Regions from separate parts of the Homo sapiens genome. Here regions 2 and 3 are each linked to region 1. The links are contacts of gene promoters, found by promoter capture Hi-C in blood cells and fetal thymus (Javierre and others, 2016). All regions are on one chromosome and are shown on one strand. The core of a region is centred on a gene start or on the middle of the fragment in contact, and the rest is flanking DNA. Distances in the headings are between cores, read along the strand shown.

Region 1 (3,525 bases), core at 417-2,916:
TGGTATATATAGTACGTTGTACGCATATTACCTTTCTAAAAGCCAAACATTTCTGATGGGCAAACCACAACTGGTCCAAAGGGTTTCAGATAATGGACTCTGAGGCCAGGTGCAGTGGCTCATGCCTGTAATCCCAGCACTTTTGGGAGGCCGTGGTGAGAGGATGACTTGAAGTCAGGAGGTCGAGACCAGCCTGGCCAACGCAGTGAAACCCCGTCACTACTAAAAATGCAAAAATTAGCTGGGTGTGGTGGCGCACGCCTGTAGTCCCAGCTACTCGGGAGGCTGAGGCAGGATAATCGCTTGAACCCGAGAGGCAGAGGTTTCAGTGAGCCGAGATCGCGCCACTGCACTCCAGCCTAGGAGACAGAGTGAGACCCTGTCTCAAAAACAAACAAACAACAACAAAGAAAACAGATTAAGGGACTTTGGACCTATACCTTATGCATAAATGTTACTGCACTACGATCATTTATTCTTGTAACCCCAGCACTTTGTAGAGTGCTTTGCATATAACAGATACACCACAAATATTTCCTAAGTGAGGAAACAAGGCTAAGAAATTAGTTAAGAAGGGAAAATGGTCAGTGCCTTGGAAATGACCATGGCTCCCAACTTGCAGGTCAGGCCTCTAACCCCTGAATGCCACTTCCTTCGTTGACTTTGAAGGCCCTATAAATAGTTGCTGTTGATTGAGGGCAAGAAACATAGCTGCTGTCTTCACTAGGAATAAAAATAGTTCAGTGGTCTTACACTGATGGACCCACACATAATTTTAGCCCAGGAATACAAAGCATAGCAGGCAAATTCATACCTCGGACCACATGGGCAGTGTCATAGGACCCTGTGAGCTTGGGAGCCTTTGGGTCTGACCTGCTACATGCAGTGACCTTTCTAGCCTCACAATTTTCTTATCTGTAAAATAGCAACCAAAGTAGCCCCTAAGGGCTTCCCAGGTGGGTCTCTACCAAGACAGCTCATGGGAGGGACGGTAGCTGTCGCCCCACACTGCAGAGTCCTGCGTAAACTTCAGGAGCTTCTTCACTCCTGTCTACTGTTCTCATTCAGTGTAGTCTGTCCAAACCCCCCACACCTCTTCTCGTCCAAAAAAAGCAGAGTCAATGCAAAAAGAGGCAGTTTGGACCCGGGCACGGAGGCGGCTCATTCTCATCCTGAACAATGGCCAAAGAATTCTGTGAAAAGTAGCCGTAGCAACAGTTAGGTCCCCTGAATCTTAAGGAGCACGGGGTGGCAATGGGGTGGTAATCACTGGCTAGCAAGGACTAGATTCAAATAGCAAACTCTTAATTGCAAGGTCTCAGGTCACAAGAGGGCCAGACCTGGGAAGGAGAATGAGTTACATGAGAGGGTAGTTCCACGCGTTCCCTGGGGGCGGTCCCTCCTTACCTGGTAACACAGGATGGTTTGCTGCACCAGCCGCGCGTACCCGTCCAAGCGGACCCCGGAATTGCTCCTGCTCCGCATCTCCCCGAGGCTCCCAGGCCGCAGCGCCCGATCTGCCGCGTGGGCGCGGGACGTCGGGGCTGTGGCCTCCAAGCGGGTCTGGTTCCCGGACACTCACAGCCTTAGTCGGTTCTTGGGATGGGACCGGGCCGGAGGAGGTCGAGACTTTTCTAAACGCTAGCCCCAAAGTCCGGTTGGAAAGCAAGCCAACCAGAGCTCCGCGCGGCGGGGAGGCGCGGGGGCGGGGACGGGGGCTGGAGCGACGAAGGTCCCGCCTCGGCCAGGCCTGCTGGGCTCCCGACGCTCGCGGGAGCAGCGGGAAACCAGGTTCCGGGAGTGGGGCGAGGACGCCCCTGCCAAGCCCCTTTTACGTCCCGGCGGTCGCGAGGAGGTCCCCCGGGCGCGAAGAAGACGCCAGCCCACCCCAGCCGCCGGGGAGATCGCCCAGGCCGCGCTCAGCCCCGCCCCTGGCTCTGCCCCCGCCGCGGAGCGGAACCCTCCAAGTCGCGGCCTGAGGAGGAAGGAAAAGGGGGCGGCCCGGGAGAGCCGCTGCGAAATCAGCAACGGGCGGGAACCAGGTTGCCTCCCTGAGTCCCTTCTCTCCCCGGCCGGCTGCCAACCACAGCCAAGGCCAGAGAAACAGGCCCTTCTGCCGCGGCCACCTGGGCGCCTTGGACCCGCCCTCCGGACTCGCCCCCGCCCCTGCCGCGGAGTGGAACGTTTGGAACCCTGAGGGGCACAGGTAAGGGGGCGGCCCCGCCCCGCGCCCTGGAACGACCTCACGGCCCCGCCCACATCCCCGCCCCTGGCCCCACCTCCGCCGCAGAGCGGAACCCTCAGAGTCGCGGCCTCGGGGGGGACGAAAAAGGAGGCGGCCCGTGGGAGTCTAGGGGAACCCGGCTTCGGGCGGCGGACGAGTTGGCTTTCCTGCGTGGTAGTGTGGAGCCCCCCGAGACGGGTGCCAGTCCCACTCGAGGCCGGAGAAAGAGGGCCGCCTACCGCGGCCGCCTGGGCACCCCTCTGAGGGCCAAGATTGTAGTCCCACCTCTGGCCCCGTCTCCGCCGCCTAGCGGAACTGGAGTAGCGGGACCCAGCCCGGAAGAAAAAGGGGGAAGGCCCGGAGAGGTGCCCCAGCGACACCTCTGGCGCCTGTGACCCCGCCCCTAGCCACTTGGGCGCCGCTTCCTCGGGCAGGTTCGCAGTTCATCTCCCACGGGTCTACAGCTTGAAACTTGGCATTCATTATAATGTTTCGTGGCTGCTGATAACCTACAGTTCACAATCTTCGGCCTGGTATTCATTGTCCACCAAAATCTGGCCCACATAGGAATTTACTGGACAGCTAGACTAATGCAATCAATTTCCGCAAGCTCTTTTCCAGTCTCCATGCATTTACTCTATGCTTGACCCCTTCGGCCCTTCTTCCTCCTCCTTGACTAACTGAAGCCTATCTTTCCCTTAACGGCCAGCTCAGCTCCTCTATTAGCCTTCCCCATTTTCTGAATTTCTGTAGCCATTGGTTTAGTAAGAGCTTAGGACTTAGAGTCAGTTCATTTTGAGTTCAAATGTCAGTTCTGTCATTTACAAGTCGTATGACCTTTGGCATCCCGTTTTACATGTTTGAACTTAAGTGTTCTCATCTGTAAAATGGAGATAATCATAGCACCTACCTCACAGGATGACTTAAGATCAAGAGGATGAATATAAAGCATTTAGCACAAGCCTGGCTAGTAGAAAAATACTTAATAAATCATAGCTAATTTCGTTGTCACTTGGCCACAATGTATTGCCTCCTGTTGTTATTTATGTTTTCATGTGTGGATGAGGCATATTTTCCTAATTGGAATGTACGTTATTCATTGAAACAGTCTTTTGGTATCTCCTACTATGCCTGGTACAGTGTTGAGCATATAGTTGGAGCTCAATTAATGTTGCTCGCATGAGTAAATGAAATCAGTCCTGCTTAGCTGCGTTCCCTTATGTTTGGTCCTTAACCAAGTTTATATTAGATATTCCAGAACATAAATCTATGGCTTTACTCTGTCACTCAACTAAAGCACC
Region 2 (3,525 bases), core at 319-2,818, 1.2 Mb before region 1:
TCGTAGAAAGGTTTCAAAAATCCAACGTTTCCATGCGAGATCCCTGTGGACAAATCATGTAAGTGTTATAAAAAACATTTTTACAACTGTGATAAACCTCTGGTTTGTAAAGATGCCAATGAGCTAGAAGTGAGAGAGTACCAGTATCTGTGTGAGATTAGCAAGGCATGTCTATACTTGTAACAGTAGATGGAGACTAAACTCTGTTGGGAGAACGCTGAAGTTTAGGTTTGATAATTTATGATGCTGCCTATTTTTATGTTTGTAATTATAATGTGTAAAATACAATTAAAATGTAGGATTGAAGAATTATATAATCAAAAGGGACCATTTATTTTTAATAATGTAAAGCAATGTTGCATGGAAAATAAGTATTAATGTATTTGCTACTAATTTTATTTACTTTTTTACTCACTGTTGGTTTATGCTGTGTTTGTGTGATTTCAGAAGCGATATGGATATAAAAAGCATTCTTACCGGCTTGTTAAAAAGCTTAAACTCCAGAAAATGAAGAAAAATGAGGTTTACGAGACATTCTCCTACCCTGAAAGTTACAGCCCCACTTTACCAGTGTCAAGGCGTGAGAATAATTCCCCGAGCAACCTTCCAAGGCCATCCTTTTGCATGGAAGAATACCAGCGAGCTGAGCTGGAGGAGGACCCGATCCTCAGCCGCACTCCGAGTCCAGTGCATCCCTCAGATTTCTCTGAGCATAATTGTCAGCCGTATTATGCATCTGATGGTGCAACGTATGGTTCTTCTTCAGGGCTCTGCCTTGGCAACCCTCGGGCTGACAGCATCCACAACACTTACTCAACTGACCATGCTTCTGCAGCACCACCTTCAGGTATGCTGGCCCAGGGAGAGCCCAATTTGGTACATGCCCCTGAGATGATGAGTTACTCAGCTTTGATGGAGAATAGGTATACTGGATCATCTCTCTGCTTCCCTTCTGGTTTGGTGAGTTTGAAATGCCATATTTACAAGTAGCACTATTTGACCTATATTTATCAACATCCTTGATGCAAACTAGTGGAAGCTGTTCGTTTCCTATTTTGAGGGCTGGTTTTAGGTGATATTCAGAATGATGACTAACATTTATTCAATGCATATTATGTGCAAGGCACTGCACCAATCAGCTGACATGCCTCTTCTCCACTTATACTCATAATGACCCCATGGTTTTGGCACATTTATTACGCCATCCCCACGATCACAGAGCTGGTGAGTAGCACTTCTAGAACTCTGCCCCATTGTGCTTTTCCAAATCTTCTATTTTTATTTACCCTTTCCCTAGATAAATAAAAAACACTCCTGATATGGCAAGAGCCCAGATGGTAGGGAAGAAAGGGTATGTTTTTGGCTAATTCACACACACAAAAAGATCAAATTGTGTTGATGGTCCTGGTTGGAGAAACAAATTTTCCTAACTAATTACAAAACCCACTTTAGTCATCACACACTAATTTTAGGGAGTCTAACACTGTGGGTGAGTAAAAGGATACTTGTCAGTACACAAAGAAATTTCAACACAACTTAGTGTAGAGCATAGCTAAAACTTTCTGAAGTATGAGCAGTTAAACTGTCTCATATCTCAGTTATTTTTTAAACATATAAACCTTTGACCAAAATCTCTATTACTATGCAATTAAACATGAAAGAGGAATTAAATAAAATGTTAGTTACTTCTGACCTAGTTCAGCAGAAAATAATCTTGTTTTCTTCACAATGCACATTAGCACTTAAGCCACGAGAGACAGGAATCTAAAAAGTAAAGCGATACTAAAAATAACCTTATTGAATACGTGGGGAAGATTTGATAAAAGTACTAATTTGGTTCTTAAAGATAATGGGGTTGTTATTGAGATTCATTGATTAAAAGGAACAAATTTAAGCAATTATAAAACTGTAAATTTGGAGAATTTCCATTATATTTTGCTAGTAAAATTAACCTAATCTAGATAGATTAAGAGAGAAATTCCTTGAAATACTTGAAGAGAGTCATAGGTTAGGTTAGATTAACCTAATTTTACCCAAGTGACAGATCTTTTGCCATATTTGCCTGTGGCCAAAGAAGACTTGGTTTACTTAGTCTGTTTTGTGATCTTTGAAACTTTAATGTAACTTCTGAACCAGCTTTTGCTATTTAGGGGAGGTCAGATGGGACACTCTTGTGTAGGCATCCCCACATCATCTTTATATAGGCTTTCACTAGATTTTACAGTTGGAGTCTTGACTCCTTGCTAGGAACATCACAGAAGGTTCCAACAAAGAGAGCATTCCTCCTTACCTAACATCTCTTCTTTCAGGATAATGATCAGGTCGAGTGTGATTTGTCTTTTTTTTCTTTTCCCCCTCTCCATTGAAGTTACAAGGTCACCAGTTGAAAATGACGGTTACATAGAGGAAGGAAGCATCACTAAGCACCCTTCAACCTGGTCGGTGGAAGCAGTGGTCCTATTTCTAAAACAAACAGATCCTCTTGCATTATGCCCTCTTGTCGACCTCTTCAGAAGCCATGTAATGTATCTTTTGATCCTGTTTTCCTGCTGTAATGCCTTTGAATGACCTCTGTGCAGGTCTTTCAGTTGGATACTGTGTGAATGGTGGGAGAACCCTATTAGCTGATTTTTCCATATATGAGAAAGCTTATTTTGCCCAAGGTTAGCCTTAAATGGTAGGCTAATGGTCTGTTCTTTAAATGGGTGTAGAAGTGCCTAAAATACAAACTGCCTCAGCTTCTTAAGACATGATGATTCAGCATGGCCACTCAGGTGTACCTCCCCTTTGTAATGACAGATACAAAGATCCTCCCCCTATCTGCTCCCAGCTGGGCACCAGGACCACGAGGAGGAGGGGGTAACCACAAGCTATAACAGGGTGGCCTTCGTTTTATATAACCAGTGATTCAACAACTGATTCCATTTGCCTCGATTATTGATGATTTGTAATGCTAATACCCTCTTGCTATTATCAGACCATTTACAAAGTAATATCCTAGGCCGAAGTTTTGTAAGTTCTAGTTTCTTTAATTTTGAGTTTTACTTAGTAGAAAAAGTATAGAAGGTGCCAAACAAAGGTTGTACTATAAGGGATTTCAGACCTTTTCAGATAGTGTTAAATGAGTAAATAAAATTTTATTTTTTAACTGGAACATATAAAACCAAATCATATGCTTCAGCAGCATAAGTTGATCAATTAAGATAAGGAATTTTAGGAGAATGCTTTGTGACTATGTTTTATTTATTCAGATATTTTCACAGTGTGTCCTAACAAAATTAGTAGCCACATATCTGATTTTTAATATAGTAAGAAAATTGGTGATTAGTTTTAGCATCTAATTAGTTTCAGACAACTAATTGGCATTCATCATAAAGACAACATTGTATAGACATTTACAGTTTGCACTGATGTTGACGTACTCATCTTCCCAGCCCTTCTCAGAAAGTTAATGAACATCTGAAATTCATTTTTACTATTCATAGTCTTTACTATTTTGTCATGGATGTGTAGTATTTTATTCAA
Region 3 (3,525 bases), core at 290-2,789, 1.2 Mb after region 1:
ACCACACTTCACCCTGGGCGATGGGCAAGACGCTGTCTCAAAAAAATAAAGTCCCCAGCTAAAAAAGAAAGGATGTTATTTTAAAAAGCGTAATTTATGAAAACACTTACCCTGACCATCCTCTTTGAATACCAGTTCTCTTTTTTCAGATTCATTCTCATTCTTACCCCTGCGTCTGTTTTTACCTCCTTTACCTGATGGTTTAAAAAAAAGAAAAGGAGGTAAATGACATTAATTATCTGTAAAACAGTATGAAATAAAATGAAATTAAGGCTTATAAAACCATTTTTTAAAAGATCACTTAAATTAAAAAATTCATCTATTTTAGCTACACAATCATATTAAATTTACAATCTCCAATCCCAACATTAACACATTATCACCTCCCTACCCTTCTTGGAATTTCCTTTGGGGATTTTTCTGACATAAAATACACATAAATAGCAGATATTATGTTAAAAAATATAGAAAAACATTTCACTTTAGCACCCATCCTTTTGAAATAAAAATGCAATTCTATACATATTCTTCTAAGCGGAAATCTTGGGTGTCTTCTAAAGCCAGGCCCTATGCAAGGAACCCGATACTTTCAAAATTAAGTGAAGACAGTGTCTGGACAGAGAACTGTGGTTTTCAAACTTTTGGTAGCAGAGTACCATAAATATTGAAATCTCACTGGGTGCAGTGGTGTGCGCCTAGGGTCTCAGCTACTCAGGAGGCTCAGGTGGGAGGATCACTTGAGCAAGCCCAGGAGGTTCCAGGCTAGCCTGGGCAACATAGCGAGACACTGTCTCTTAAAAAATAAAGAAGATCTGTTCGGTACCCAATTTACTTTCTTTTATAATGCTGGTCCCTACTCAACATCCCTGTTTCTATTATATGACCCCAGTGACCATGCTCTTAACCACTATGCAATAATTCTGCCCATTTACTTGTCACAATCACCCCATGAGGTCATAACATTCATTTATTCCCAGTTTACCCATGAGTTCCCTGAAGCTCAGAGAAGTTAAGTAAGTCGCTTAGCTTCAGTGAGTAAATCAGTTCACTGATTACAGTCAGTAAGCTGGGGTGACCAAAGTCACAATGTTTTTTTTGCCCCTAGCCCCCACATAAGCTTACCTCTCCACAGCATTTTGCTCCCATTCCAGAAAGGAAACCACATTGGCAGCCATTTCCAAAAGGCAGGAAAAAGGCTGTAAGTGGTAATGACCCTAAGAGACTCATGGGAAGAGCTTGGAAGCAGCAAAAAAAAATGGAGGACACTTAAATTAGGTCATGAAAAGTACCATTCCTCTAAGTAAGATAACTAAGAACTGATTGGTTTCAGACAGTACAGGAATGATAAACACCAAACTCAGCCTGGTGATTACCTCCAAAAAGAGAGTAAAAGGTGATTAGGGCTTTACCTCAATCTGCGCTGTAATTCTTAAATTCAGAGTAATGGGTTCCCAGGTATATCATGTTAGCTGTATTTTTTGTATGCCTCAAATGTTATTTAAGAAAAGACTAATTACTTGTCAATTTACCAGAATTAACCATACCCGGATCACTCCCCTTTGTATTTTATTGCCATGTAATGGGATGTTCTTTAAATTCTCTGTTGAATGAATGAGACTAGGTCTGAGTGTACAACAATTAAAGTGACATCAACATTCTTTAAACCAGAGTTGTTTTGGAGAAATTCCCAGAGAGGCTCTTTCTTAAGACATGAGGCTAGGGAACTAGATGTGATTTAGTGTAGAAGTCCTATCCCCTTGGAACCAAAGCAGAACCTATTATTCACTAAGGGTGGAGTCGACAGGAGGTAGGTGACTTAAACCAACAAATATTTATTAAGCATCTACTAATTGTCAAGTGCTGGCAATCCAATGAGATTAAGACAGATACTATTCCTGCCTTGTAGAGCTTACAGCCTGGTGGAAGAATTGGAAATCTTATTACTAGAAATAAAGGTGAGAATAAGATGGAAGTGATCCCCTTACCACCTCAGAGAGAATAAAGGATTATACAGAAGAAAACTGTAAGACTTTAAAATTTTTTGTTTATAACTCCATCTTTTCCAAAATAATGAGCAGTGACTGCACCAACTTGTGCACAGAACACCTCGACCAAGTACCCTAAGGGATAAAGTAATAAGTGACAGCTACAAAGAGGAAATGTGGTAGAATCCCTGGAGCCAGCTGTCAAGTAGAAAAGAGAGCAGAAGTAGGCCTGTGTCAGGGGAGGGTTTCCTCTAGAATGAATAATCAAAGGAGACTACTTACGGACTATGAAGTATGCTCCTCTCCTGTAGGAAAATACAGTATTTTCCCTATATTTACTTGCACAATTTTCTTCAAGTTATACGGCTATTAAAAATGACAGGAACACTGTAAATCTATAAAAGTAATTTCTTTAGGAGTGTTCTGTTTTTTGTTTTTGTTTTTTTTTTTTTAAGATTAGGCCTTCCGTTTTGGAAATCCCAAATAAAGTTATCCTCAAGTCTGATCATTTGTGAACGCTTAGCCTCAGAATGGAGGACACTTAAATTAGGTCTTTATTCTCACAACATATGCATCATCTGAAGCAAAAGTAGAAAACTTGGCTCAATATGGAATAAGTCTTCAGCAAACAAACATAAGCTATATCCTGTAAAGGGATGGAGAGAGTAAATCTCTAGAGGTGAGCCTTAGAAATGTATCAAGGTTTCACCCACTGTTCACAAGGGACAGCGAGTAGCCTCAACAATACTGAACTGTCCATAAAGAAACCCATGCAGGAGTACCTGGTGCTCACGAATGCAGACAGCACTCTGAAAGTTCAGAACGGCTTCCAGGGATTATAACCCCTCATGCCCGGGAAGGCCAAAGGGGCCTATCTACTAAACCTAGGCCGCCCCGGGGAAGGTTCCCGCCACCGTCCCCACCGAGCAGCGGTCAGTCTGGCGCGAATCAGGAGCAAAAGCCCACATTCTCCCGCAGGAGGCCCTACAAAAATGGCGCCGGCTCCACCCCAATGTGACCAAACTGGGCAACAGGAGTTAACTTCCCAGCTCCTCTCCCGAGCTCAGAGTCGCGTGTGGGGCGCCCAGCCGCGGGCAGGCAGGGCGGGAAGGAAAAAGGGTCACTGCGGCCTGGGTGACCTGCAATCTACGGGCAGGACCTGGGAGACCCGGCCGAGCAGAGCCGTGGTCCGGGGGTCCGGGCGGCATTACCTTTATTCTTGGGCATGGCGGTGGCGGCGACCTCGCGGCGTCTCTGACTTCTTTCCGGGTAGCGGCGACCGCGGCGGCTGCTGCTCCGAGGGGCGACACGAGGGAGCGCGCGGGACCAAGTAGGTGCTGGAGGCCAGGCAACGTGCGCGGGAGAGGCTGGCGACCCAGCTCTTCAGAGATCCGCCTGCGTCCACGCTCGGCGGCAGCAAATGGCGCCGCGACTCTTTGCGTCGCTTTTCCCCGCCTCCCGTCGCCGGCTGGGCCCGCCCCCAGGCTTTATGACGCAGGCGTGGCCGACTGACTCCTATTGTTAGAGCCGAGGGAGACGC

Evidence for each region. The method cuts DNA at HindIII sites, captures the fragments that hold promoters and counts their contacts. A CHiCAGO score of 5 or more calls a contact.
Region 2: a contact is called between a fragment that was not itself captured here and the fragment with the promoter of PHKA2 in region 1, in 1 of 17 cell types (total B cells). The highest score is 6.1, in total B cells.
Region 3: a contact is called between the fragment with the promoter of EIF1AX-AS1 here and the fragment with the promoter of PHKA2 in region 1, in 1 of 17 cell types (neutrophils). The highest score is 10.5, in neutrophils.

The regions. Positions count from the first base shown.
Region 1 is chrX:18,982,448-18,985,972 of GRCh38, forward strand. It overlaps PHKA2 (phosphorylase kinase regulatory subunit alpha 2), which reads right to left and starts at 1,667. Exons shown (of 33, transcript NM_000292.3): 1 at 1,408-1,667. The coding sequence starts at 1,485. RefSeq lists enhancers at 1,469-1,969, 1,970-2,470, 2,452-2,501 and a silencer at 1,662-2,351. The HindIII fragment of the contact is 8,902 bases long and covers 1-3,525 here.
Region 2 is chrX:17,749,447-17,752,971 of GRCh38, forward strand. It overlaps SCML1 (Scm polycomb group protein like 1), which reads left to right. Exons shown (of 8, transcript NM_001037540.3): 5 at 1-58; 6 at 448-847; 7 at 2,369-2,520. Among named protein-coding and RNA genes, the nearest start is that of SCML1, 14 kb to the left of the region's middle. RefSeq lists an enhancer at 339-1,538. The HindIII fragment of the contact is 2,156 bases long and covers 491-2,646 here.
Region 3 is chrX:20,138,429-20,141,953 of GRCh38, forward strand. It overlaps EIF1AX-AS1 (EIF1AX antisense RNA 1), which reads left to right and starts at 1,540. Exons shown (of 2, transcript NR_046592.2): 1 at 1,540-1,807; 2 at 1,907-2,016. It overlaps EIF1AX (eukaryotic translation initiation factor 1A X-linked), which reads right to left and starts at 3,410. Exons shown (of 7, transcript NM_001412.4): 1 at 3,197-3,410; 2 at 111-194. The coding sequence starts at 3,212. RefSeq lists enhancers at 2,652-2,811, 3,142-3,411, 3,472-3,521. The HindIII fragment of the contact is 4,524 bases long and covers 1,116-3,525 here.